2 separate regions of the Homo sapiens genome follow, and region 1 is linked to region 2. Evidence: promoter capture Hi-C in 16 types of primary human blood cells and fetal thymus (Javierre and others, 2016). All regions are on one chromosome and are shown on one strand. The core of a region is centred on a gene start or on the middle of the fragment in contact, and the rest is flanking DNA. Distances in the headings are between cores, read along the strand shown.

What was found. Contacts are between HindIII fragments. The CHiCAGO score rates a contact against its expected background, and 5 or more counts as called.
Region 1: a contact is called between a fragment that was not itself captured here and the fragment with the promoter of RNF125 in region 2, in 1 of 17 cell types (fetal thymus). The highest score is 6.2, in fetal thymus.

What each region holds. Positions count from the first base shown.
Region 1 is chr18:31,556,314-31,561,767 of GRCh38, forward strand. DSG2-AS1 (DSG2 antisense RNA 1) reads right to left here and starts at 598. Exons shown (of 6, transcript NR_045216.1): 1 at 1-598. The HindIII fragment of the contact is 963 bases long and covers 2,969-3,931 here.
Region 2 is chr18:32,016,975-32,022,836 of GRCh38, forward strand. It overlaps RNF125 (ring finger protein 125), which reads left to right and starts at 1,851. Exons shown (of 6, transcript NM_017831.4): 1 at 1,851-2,053. The coding sequence starts at 1,890. RefSeq lists enhancers at 1,173-2,045, 1,452-1,746, 2,046-2,918, 2,563-2,612 and a silencer at 1,452-1,746. The HindIII fragment of the contact is 17,285 bases long and covers 1-5,492 here.

The sequences.
Region 1 (5,454 bases), core at 2,200-4,699, 460 kb before region 2:
AAATGTCTTTCTGAAGGTCAGTCATGAGCCTTTGGTTCTATCAAAAATGCTGCACTTTGGAGGAAATGACGCTGGCCAATGGATTTACGAATAACACACTCAGCCTGCTGTGGGCTATCTTAAAGAATAGATGTTGACTTTTTCTGAAATATTAGATTCAACTAAGCATATGTTGAATTCTCACTATGTGCAGAGCCCTATTTAGTGGCTTTAAAATTACTCAAAGATGAGTAAGGCCCAGACCTTGCCCTCCAGAGGCTCACAATATAGTGGAGGAAGTAGTTACAAACAGCTTATTCTGAAAACCAAGACACTGTAAAAAACAACATATCAAAGATAGAAAGAAAATGCCAAGGCTGATTGGAGAGATTAATTCTTCTTTTGATTAATTTCTCTTTGTCATTCCCAATTCCTCCAAGTTGAAGGGGAAAGGGAATGTCTAGGAGCTCTTCTTAGACAGGTGGGCTTTCGATGAAAATTGGAAGTTAATATAGTTAGGATACGGTCCCCTCCAAATCTTAGTTGAAATGTGACCTCCAATGATGGAAGTGGAGTCTGGTGGGAGGTATTGGATGATGGGAACCGATCCCGCAGGAACGGATTCGTGCCATCCCCTTGGTGATGAGCCAGTTCTCGCTCAGGTCGTTCACGCGAGATCTGGTTGTTTTTTAAAAGCGTAGCCCCTCTCTCCCCTCTCTCTTGATCCTGGTCTCACCATGTGATACACCCACTTCGCCTTCCGCCAATAATTGGAAGCTTCCTGAGGCCCTCACCAGAAGCAGATGCCAGCACCACACCTCTGGTTCACCTGCAGAACCGTGAGCCAGTTAAACCTCTTTTCTTTATAAACTACCAGCCTCAGGCCAGGTGTAGTGGCTCACACCTGTAATGCCAGCACTTTGGGAGGCTGAGGCAGTCAGATCACCTGAGGTCAGGAGTTCAAGACCAGCCTGACCAACATGGCGAAACCCGTCTCTACTAAAAATACAAAAATTAGCCGGGCGTGGTGGCGGGCGTCTGTAATCCCAGCTACTCAGGAGGCTGAGGCAGGAGAATCGCTTGAACCTGGGAGGCAGCGGTTGCAGTGAGCCAAGCGCGCCACTGCACTCCAGCCTGGGCGACAGAGTGAGACTCCGTCTCAATAAATAAATAAATAAATAACCAGCCTCAGGTATTTCTTTATAGTAATGCAAAAATGAACTAATCCAGAGAGTAAGTAAACAGGAGGAAGGACCACCTAGATCAGAAGCTTACCTCACACAGGTGAGGGTGGCTAGCGGGTAAGGGATTAGAGGCGGTGAGCACAGCAGAAGGTGTGGGTGAAGAGGCAGGTACAGGCCACCCTGTGGAGGACTTGGAACAGCAGCTAAGGCTGTGGGACCAGACTCTTTATGCAGTAAAGAGCCACAGACAATTGTGAGCAAGACACCTTATAACCAGGTTTTAGAAAGAATCCTCAGCTGGAAGGAGGAGATTCTGCAGGAAGAGGGTGGGGGAAAGTTGAAGTTAACTCCAACCAAAGTCAACCTTAAATATTAACCTTTTTTTCTTCTGACTTTCATTGACTTTTCCGTGCATTTTCAGTGCCCTTTTCTTGCTGTAAAGTAAATTTTAAATATTATGTCAATAGGTCACAGAGGCAACAGACAGGCAAGGTATGGTTATGAGAAAAACATTTCCCTAAACAAAATTAGAAGACAGCATTTGATGAAAGATTTTTTTCCTAACTTGTGAGTTTGTTTACATAAAAACACTTACAAAATTAGTCAATCAAAATAACATGGAGTCATTTACTTAAAGAATTCCTTACGTTTAAAAATAAAGTACTTGAATATGGAATCAACCTAAGTGTCCATCAACTTAAGTGTCCAATTTAATCCATCAACTGGATTAAAAAACTGTGGTACATATATACCACGGGATAATACTCAGCCATAAAAAAGAATGAAATCATGTCTTCTGCAGCAACATGGATGGAATTGGAGGCCATTAACCTAAGTGAAATAACTCAAAAACAGAAAGTCATTTGAGACCAGCCTTACCAACATGGAGAAGCCCCATCTCTACTAAAAATATAAAATTAGCCGGGTGTGGTGGTGCATGCCTGTAATCCCAGCTACTCGGGAGGCTGAGGCAGGAGAATCGCTTGAACCTGGGAGGCGGAGGTTGCGGTGAGCCGAGATCTCACCATTGCACTCCAGCCTGGGCAACAAGAGTGAAACTCTGTCTCAAAAAAAAAAAAAAAAAAAAAACCGTATGTTCTCACTTATAAGTGGAAGCTAAACAGTGGGTACACGTGGGCATACAGAGTGGAATAATAGACACTGGGGACTCCAAAAGGTGAGAAGGGAGGAGAAAGTAAGGATTGAAAAATTACCTCTTGGGTACAACGTTCACTGTTCCGGTGATGGGTACACTAAAAAGCCTAGATGTAACTGTTATGCAATCCGAGCATGTAAACAATCTGCAGCCGGGCTTGGTGGTTCATGCCTGTAATCCCATCACTTTGGGAGGCCAAGGCAGCAGGATTGCTTGAGCCCAGGAGTTCTAGACCAGCCTGGGCAACATAGTGAGACCTCGTCTTTACAAAAATTTTAAGAAATTAGGTGGCCATGGTGGTGTACACCTGCGGTCTCAGCTGCTTGGGCGGCTGACATGGGAAGATCACTAGAGCCCAGGAATTCAAGGCTGCAGTGTGCCATGACTGTGCCACTGTACTCCAGCCCAGATGACAAAGACTATGCTTTAAAAAAATGAAAATTTAAAAATCCTGCACTTGTACCCCTGAAATATATAAAAATAGAAACAGAAACATAAATAATAATAAAATGCATTTCTTTTACACATAAAACAAATAAAAGTAAAGTACTTGAAATTAGACGATTCCAGAAAATTGTTGACATGTTTGTTCCCCTAACAATTTGGTACTTTGGTCTCCTTTATGAAACTGTGAAAGCTCCGAGCCAAAAGCTTTGTCTTTCTTCATTCTTGCATCTTTAGTACATATCACAATGCTTTATATATGACACGTGCATGACTATTTGTTGTTAATTGAATGGTATATCATATTTCAATAGACATTTTCCCCAACATTCTATTGGAAAACTTTTCACACACATAGCAAACTGAAAGAATTTTCAGTGAACACTTGAATTTCTACCACCAAGATTTCACTATTAATATTTTACTGTTCTTAGTTTATTACATATCTATCCATGTCTGTATCCATTGATCAATCCATCTTATTTCTCTTGGTGAATTTCAAATTAAATTATAGCCATAAGTATACTTAAATACATCCATACGCTGAACACATCAGAGTTGAATTACAGTTCAAGATTTATTTACATTTTTTTTCTTCTGAGGCAAAATCACATAGCATGAAATGCACCAATTTTAAGTGTACATTTGCTAAGTTTTGAAGAATGCATACACCCGTGTAACCAAACCCCTTTCAAGATGTGAAAATGACCATGACCCCAGAAAATACCAATACCTCTTCCTGCTCAGGCCTCATCTCTATCTCTGAGAGGCAATGACTTTTTTATTTAAATTTTTTTTAGTTTTGCCTCTCCTAGAACTTTATATAAATGGAGTCATATAGTGTGGACTCTGGAATAGACTTCTATCACTCAGCATAATTTTTTGAGATTCATCTAGGTTGTGTGTACCAGTAACACATTTCTTTTTGTAGAAAAGAAACTATTTTGCAATGGAATGCAGTAGCGTTCTATTGTATAATTATGTCAAAATTGTTTTTCCATTCTCATATTGATGGACACCCAGACTGTCTTCAGTTTTGTGTTATCAAAAATGAAGCTACTATAAACATTCATGTTCAAGCCTTGGTGGCCATATGTTTTCATTGCTCTGGGGCAAATACCTAAATTGCTGGGTCATGGGGTAAATGTATGTGTAGACATTTTTTAGAAGCTTTTTTTTTTTTTTAACAAAAATGCCAGGCTATACTTACCATGCTTTTTCTCTCCTAGTTTGCCAATTTATTATTTATTTATTTATTTATTTTCTTGAGACAAGGTCTCACTCTGTTGCCCAGGCTGGAGTGCAGTGGCACAATCATAGCTCACTGCAGCCTCAATCTCCCAGACTCAAGTGATCCTTCTGCCTCTGCCTCCAGAGTAGATGGGACCACAGGCACGCACCACATCAAGCTATTTTTTTTATATATTTTTTGTAGAGATGGGGATTTGCTATGTGGCCAAGGCTGGTTTTGAACTCCTGGGCTCAAGTGATCCTCCCAACTCGGCCTCCCAAAGTGCTGGCACTGCCCCTGGACTAGCTTGCCAATTTAAAAGAAATCCCTGAGTAAGAGCACCCAAGGTCCGCTGAATGCCCTTCACCTCACTCGGAATTCTAGAGCATCCGAGGATCTTTCCATTCCATATGATACACACCCTACCACACACTCAACCAACAGCTGACTGGATGAGAGAGGTACTGAACCTAAAAGTGGCCATCTGCAGGTTGTCTAGAAGCCCAAGAGATAGACTGTTCAAAGATCTGGCCACAATGGGATGACAAAGAATAATCAGTCCAGCTAACTCCCTTCTTATTAATTAGAAATGGAGACACTGGAAAGAGACATTTAGTTAAAAGTGGACACAGAAGGAAAAAGACACACAAGCAAAGCATTCTTCAGATTTCTTTGAGAGCAGCTAAATTGATGGTTAAAGAGACATGCGGAAATTCATGCTTTTCTAAGGAATGAGCTCTTTAGGAGTTTCTCTTGCAAACAAAGAGAAATAAAATTCCCACATAATCTGGAGCACTCTAAGGAAGGGTAGAAAAATCCATGTTCTTGCTAGTACAGGACTTAGAGTCTTAAAAATTAGAGAAATTCGTTTAAGATTTATAGTCTTAAAAATTAGAAAAATCCACCCACCTGATCCACATTGAGAAGCTGGAATGAAATAAAAATAAAGATAATGATTAAAAGGAATATTCCCTCAATATTTCCACTCCCTGCATCCCCGACCCGTCTGCGTCTCCCTCTACTCTCATACATACTCCAGTAATATTTGGCCAAAAGTAGAAGCCAGGGGGTTAGAAAAAGAAATAGGATAAACCAAGACAAACTATCAAGGAAGTAAAAGGAACATAGAGGCAAACAAAATCCTCATGTCTCTTTCCCCCTCCTCCTGACATAGCCCTGATAACTAGGGAGGAAGAGCATCTGCTACCGGGTGCATCCTCTGAACATTCCAATGACCCGACCCATGGAAAGAGAACCAAATTCTTCAGCCCAGCTTCTAGGATCTTACCTCAAGAGAGTCTTAAAATTATGAAAAGATATGTATATAAGGATGTTTGCTACTATGTTGTTTATCATGTAAAAATTGTAAACAGCAGGTTATTGGTAGAGTTCCTTCAAAATGAGCTGTGGGCCGGGTGTGGTGGCTCACACCTGTAATCCCAGCACTTTGGGAGGCCAAG
Region 2 (5,862 bases), core at 601-3,100:
GATGGAGTGTAGTGGCATGGTCTCGGCTCACTGCAACCTCCACCTCTTGGGTGCAAGTGGTTCTCCTGCCTCAGCCTCCCAAGTAGCTGGGACTACACGCATGTGCCACCACACCTGGCTAATTTTTGTATTTTTAGTACAAAAATTTTTACTAAAGAAATGTATTTCTAGTAGAGACGGGGTTTCACTATGTTGGCCAGGCTGGTCTTGAACTCCTGACCTTGTGATCCACCTGCCTCGGCCTCCCAAATTGCTGGGATTTCAGGCGTGAGCCACTGCACCCAGCCTGTTTTGGTTTTTTGAGACAGGGTCTCCCTCTGTTGCCCAGGCTGGAGTGCAGTGGCATGATCTCGGCTCACTGCAGCCTCCACCTTTCCGGTTCAAGCGATTCTTGTGCCTCAGCCTCCCAAGTAGCTCACACCCAGCTAAGTTTTGTATTTTTAGTAGAGACAGGGTTTCACCATGTTGGCCAGGCTGGTCTCAAACTCCTGACCTCAGGTGATCTGTCCTTCTTGCCTCCCAAAGTGCTGGGATTACAGGCGTGAGCCACTGCCCCGGCTTGGTTTGTTTTTTGAGACATGGTCTCACTCTGTCGCACAGGACGGAGTGCAGTAGTGTGATCTTGGCTCCCGTGCTCAAGTGATCCTCCCACCTCAGCCTCCCAAAGTGCTGAAATTACAGGCGTGAGCCACGGTACCCGGCCTATATCTCCTAATTAAAAGTAAAGCCTGGGTGAAGTTTATGGCCTGCTAAATACGTACATGTATTATATGCGTTATTATATCCCATGTGTTATATTATATATTATTGTATATGTGTATTATATACTATGTACTATTCTTACAACTGTATGTGAATCTATAATTATCTCAAAGTTTTGTTTTTGTTTTTTAAAGTAAGTTCTGTGAGAACTGGGATTTTGTTTGCTTGTTGACGATTGTGTCTTCATCACTAGAACCGAGTCTGGCGTGCAGTGGGCACTAAATAAGTCTTCGTAAAAAGTGTAAATTAACGCCCGGCTAATTTTTGTATTATTAGCAGCGACGGGGTTTCACCATGTTGGCCAGGCTGGTCTCGAACTCCTGCCCTCAAGCAGGAGTTTCAAGCCCGCCTCGGCCTCCCAAAGTGTTGGAATTACAGGCGTGGGCCACCGCGCCTGGCTGATCATGTTTAAAGGGCGGGGTGGGGAGCGTACAAACAACAGAGGAAATCCTGAGCCGCAGAGGAAACTGGAGATGGCAGGGTTTAGCACTAGAATCTCTGTAGGAGAGGTAAGATTGGAATCCTAATCTCCAGGACTCTTTCCACTACCCAGGCTATCTCTCCATTAATGGACTATTGATTGGATGACAGAGTAGCGATAGCACCGTCTTAGGAGACGCCCAATCATAGGTCATAGGTCATTTTTGCAGCTTATTGTGATGACAACAGTGGAGGATGGTCTTCCACTTCACCTTAAAAGCGGCTGTTCTCTGATTATCATTAAGCATGGCCACGCCCGCACTTAACTTCTGACAGTGGGGAAAGCAGCTGTGTGTGATAGCTTGGAAGGTTTACTGCTGCCTCAAGTCCTCTTCTCTGCAGTTGAGGTTTCAGGTTTCAATCCTCCCAATACCACAAGACAGAGCACGGGGCGGCTGCCGCCTCCGCCTCCGCGCCTTAACCTAGGCGGCTTGCCGAAGATCTCAGCCCCGCGGCCGCGCGCTCGCCCTGCCCTAGACCAGGGTTGGGCGCAGCGGCGGAGGTGGCTTCTGGGCTGCGCGAGCTGGGAGAGCTGGGAGGCGGCGATCGCAGCTGGGCCGGGACTTCCTTCCTCCACCGCACGGCAACAAAACAACCCTGCGGCAGGCACTGAGTGCTTCGCAGCTGTCTGGGCGAGAGGCACAGCGATGGGCTCCGTGCTGAGCACCGACAGCGGCAAATCGGCGCCCGCCTCTGCCACCGCGCGGGCCCTGGAGCGCAGGAGGGACCCGGAGTTGCCCGTCACGTCCTTCGACTGCGCCGTGTGCCTTGAGGTGTTACACCAGCCTGTCCGGACCCGCTGTGGCCACGTGTAAGTTCCAGGGGAGCTCGGTTTGCGCCCACCCCTAAGGAGGGCGATGTGGGGAAGCTGAGGGCATGGTGTGGGGAAGGAGGGGGACGGAAGACAGCCTCTTAGGAAATTGCTGCAGGGAGAAACCTGGACCCGTCGGATGCAGGACCACGGGGAAAACGCGGGTCGGAAGGTGACACAGGATTTCGGGAGGAGAAAAAATAAACAAGCGGGTCCTGTAGCCCCCTTGCGCTTTCAGCTCCCGAAGCCCAGGTGCGGAACTCCAGAGAAGGGGATCCAGGCACGGGTCCCGCCCAGAGCCAGGGCTCGCCAACTGGGGAGGGTGCTCTTGGCTGGAGAACCAGCGCTCGCCCAGGCACGGAAAGGAAACGAGCTCCAGCTACAAGGCAGGGGCTCCCGCAAAGCGCAGTTACCCCGCTGAACACGGTAGAACGGGCTGCGCTTCCCTCTGCCCCAGAAACCCGGGTCCGTTTTGTTTTGCTGGAGCTGTGCACGTGTTCCCAGAATGCCCACAGAGGCTCGTCTTAAGCAAACAAGGATCTGTGCAAAGTGTCTTTCCACCCCCACCCCTGCTACCCTTTCCCAACACAGACACCCAGCCCCTCAAAGGGCAAGTCAAACTGGAGCTTCCGAGTGACTTTCCACAGTTGTTAGAGTTTAACAACCTGCTAGGGTGGGGCTTGGACGTTAGCCGCCAAGCCCCTGAATGTACTCCTTCAAAACCCAGCCACAACGTAACAGGAGGTGGCAGGCTACCTGCTTTACGCACGGTCTCTCCAAACCGGCGGAAATTACAGAGTAAAATAACTTTCTCAAAACCGCATAGTACTTAGCTAAAACTCACAGTTGGTGCAAAGCCGTGGTCGTTTCTAAGAAGAATTTAAAAACAAAGTCCCTATATAAAATTGGCACATCCTTAATGTGTGTTTGAATAACTGGTGGAGTTGGAGCTGTGAATTTGTGCTCTCTGTTTACTGTGTGTGTGTGTGTGTGTGTGTGTGTGTGTTTGAGAGAGAGAGAGAGAGACGTAGTCTGGCTCTGTCGCCCAGGCTGGAGTGCGGTGGTGCTATCTCGGCTCACTGCAACCTCCGCCCACTGCAACCTCCGCCTCCCAGGCTCAAGTGAGTCTCCTGCCTCAGCCTCCCGAGTTGCTGGGATTACAGGCGCCCACCCCCACACCCGGCTAGTTTTTGAATTTTGAGTAGAGATGGGGTTTCACCATGTTGGCCAGGCTGGTCTTGAACTCCTGACCTCAATTGATCCACCCACCTCGGCCTCCCAAAGTGCTGGGATTAAAGGTGTGAGCCACTGCACCCAGCCTTCTCTCTTTGCTTTGATTTTTTTTCGTGGATACGTGTGTGTGTGTTGTGTCTGCACAGATCAGGAGCGGAAGCCTACTTAATGTCCTTTGAAGGGTGACTATAGTATGATGAAGCCATGTGTGATACCACAGTGGCTTGTACCAGCATTTGGCTTAGCAGGAAGAAAGAAATACCGTTATTATGAATGCAAGTGCACAACATGTTTTTGAGGACCACTTTTGAAAGGATTTAGGTAGTCCTTAAAAACATGTTGTGCACTTGCAGTCAAAAGTTTTGACGCCCGGCGTGGTGGCTCACACCTGTAATCCTAGCACTTTGGGAAGCCGAGGTGGATGGATCACCTGAGGTCAGGAGTTCGAGACCAGCCTGGCCGACATGGTGAAACCTCGTCTCTACTAAAAATACAAAAATTAGCCAGGTGTGGTGACCCGTGCCTGTAATCCCAGCTACCTGGGAGGCTGAGGCAGGAGAACTGCTTGAACCTGGGAGGCAGAGGTTGCAGTGAGCTGAGATGGCATCATTGCACTCTAGCCCGGGCAACAGAGCAAAACTCAGTCTCAAAAAAAAGAAAGAAAAAAAAGAAAGTTTTGAAAGGACTTAGGTAATCCTTAATACCTATAGCCTTGTATCTGAAAAGCAGTTTTCACTACTGCCCGTCTGTGAGCCAGGGACAAAAGTGTGCAGCCTGCACAATGTATAAATAAAGAGTGCTTTGGGCATTATTTCGTAGCTGTGTTTTCTTTTCTTTTGAGATGGAGTCTTGCTGTGTTGCCCAGGCTGGAGTGCAGTGGCACGATCTTGGCTCACTGCAAGCTCCGCCTCCCGGGTTCACGCCATTCTCCTGCCTCAGCCTCCCGAGTAGCTGGGACTACAGGTGCCGCCACCACGCCCGGCTAATTTTTTTGTATATTTAGTAGAGACGGGGTTTCACCGTGTTAGCCAGGATGGTCTTGATCTCCTGACCTCGTGATCTGCCCGCCTCGGCCTCCCAAAGTGCTGGGATTACAGGCGTGAGCCATGGAGCCCGGCCGTAGCTGTATTTTCAAGGCCTGTTGTTTCAGCTTTGTTCTTAAAACTCGAGGCTTAAATTTACCCTCCTTTCTATTACTGATGTTGTTGCTCAGCTGTCCAGATGTAGCTTATTAACATAATATCCACAGGCCAGTCTGGAAGCCAAGATGGGCTGTGTGAGTCATAAAATATATTGATTATTTTAGGGCAATAACAGCCTAAAGATATCTCCATTTAAATTGAGTCATTATTAGCATTAAAACTTTAAAGTTGTGCAAAACATAAACAGTGGGCGTTTTGAAGATTCTTTTTGGAACAGACCGCTTTGCTATTCAATGATCTGACTGGAGATTGTTTTCTCGGTTTGGACTTTGAATATTATAATTTACCATTTACAATATTTTTCCTTCTACTAAAGGATAATATAAATTTGCAAAATGTTAAATTTTTTGTTTAATCTTTTTCTTTGTTAAAGTGAATAGGAAACTAGCAACTGGAAAAATAGTCATAAAATAGCATTACAAGGGCTGAACAAATTGCCTTTCCTCTCTTTACTGTTCTTTGTTTTGACAAATCTATGTCCATTGTTCTGGCTGTGGGCAGAATTTCCATATTCCTCCTTTTGGCAAACTTACTTGGTCCCCTTCCACTTTATAAATGTTAACCAGAGTCCTTTCTGCAGTAGAGATTGTGAGCGTTAATACCATTTGTACATTCTAAATGAATTACTCTTTTCCATTGAAATTAAGTTGGAAAACGAATAAATGCAAATGAACCTTCTGTATTTTATTATCCCATATTGAAGCTACATTTTCAGACATGTTGAACTAGGTGGTTTATGCTGATTTTTGTTTGTAAACCTATTTCAAGTCAAACAAGTTTAATAATAACAACAGTACCTTGAATGAATATGTAAGAGCACTTTATAAGTTGTATTGTGATGCAGTAGTAACTGGCCCTTACAGAGAGCTGGATTTGAAATTCACCTCTGCCACTAGCCAGATGTGTGACCACTTTAGGGAAATTTGAATTTGATTTTTTTCCCCTAAAGTTTTGATCATTTGAGTCTATGAAACAAACTGCTAATAGATTAACAAGGGGGGAAAAGCTTACAAATGTATTAATGAGCATATGGGCATGGGAGTCATACAAAATATGAAAACTGAGAGAAAGGGCCAGATGCTTGATGCTTTTATACCATCTTGAGGTTACAGCAGAGTAGGGGCTTGGAACATGGTTATGGGAGGGAGAAAGAAAGAAGGGGCTGGGGCAAAGATGGTCTAGTTATGCAGATGAAACTTCATAGATAGCAGCTCCTAGAAAGAATAGGCATGAGCCTGTGTTAAGTTGCTCTGTCAGACCTTCGTAGGTGTCAGACTTTCAGTTAATAATTTCCTAGGTACAGATAAGGGGGTGCCTCCAAGAAAGCCTGGTTGTTTATTTCACCAGTGTAGATTTTCTCTACAGATGCAAGTC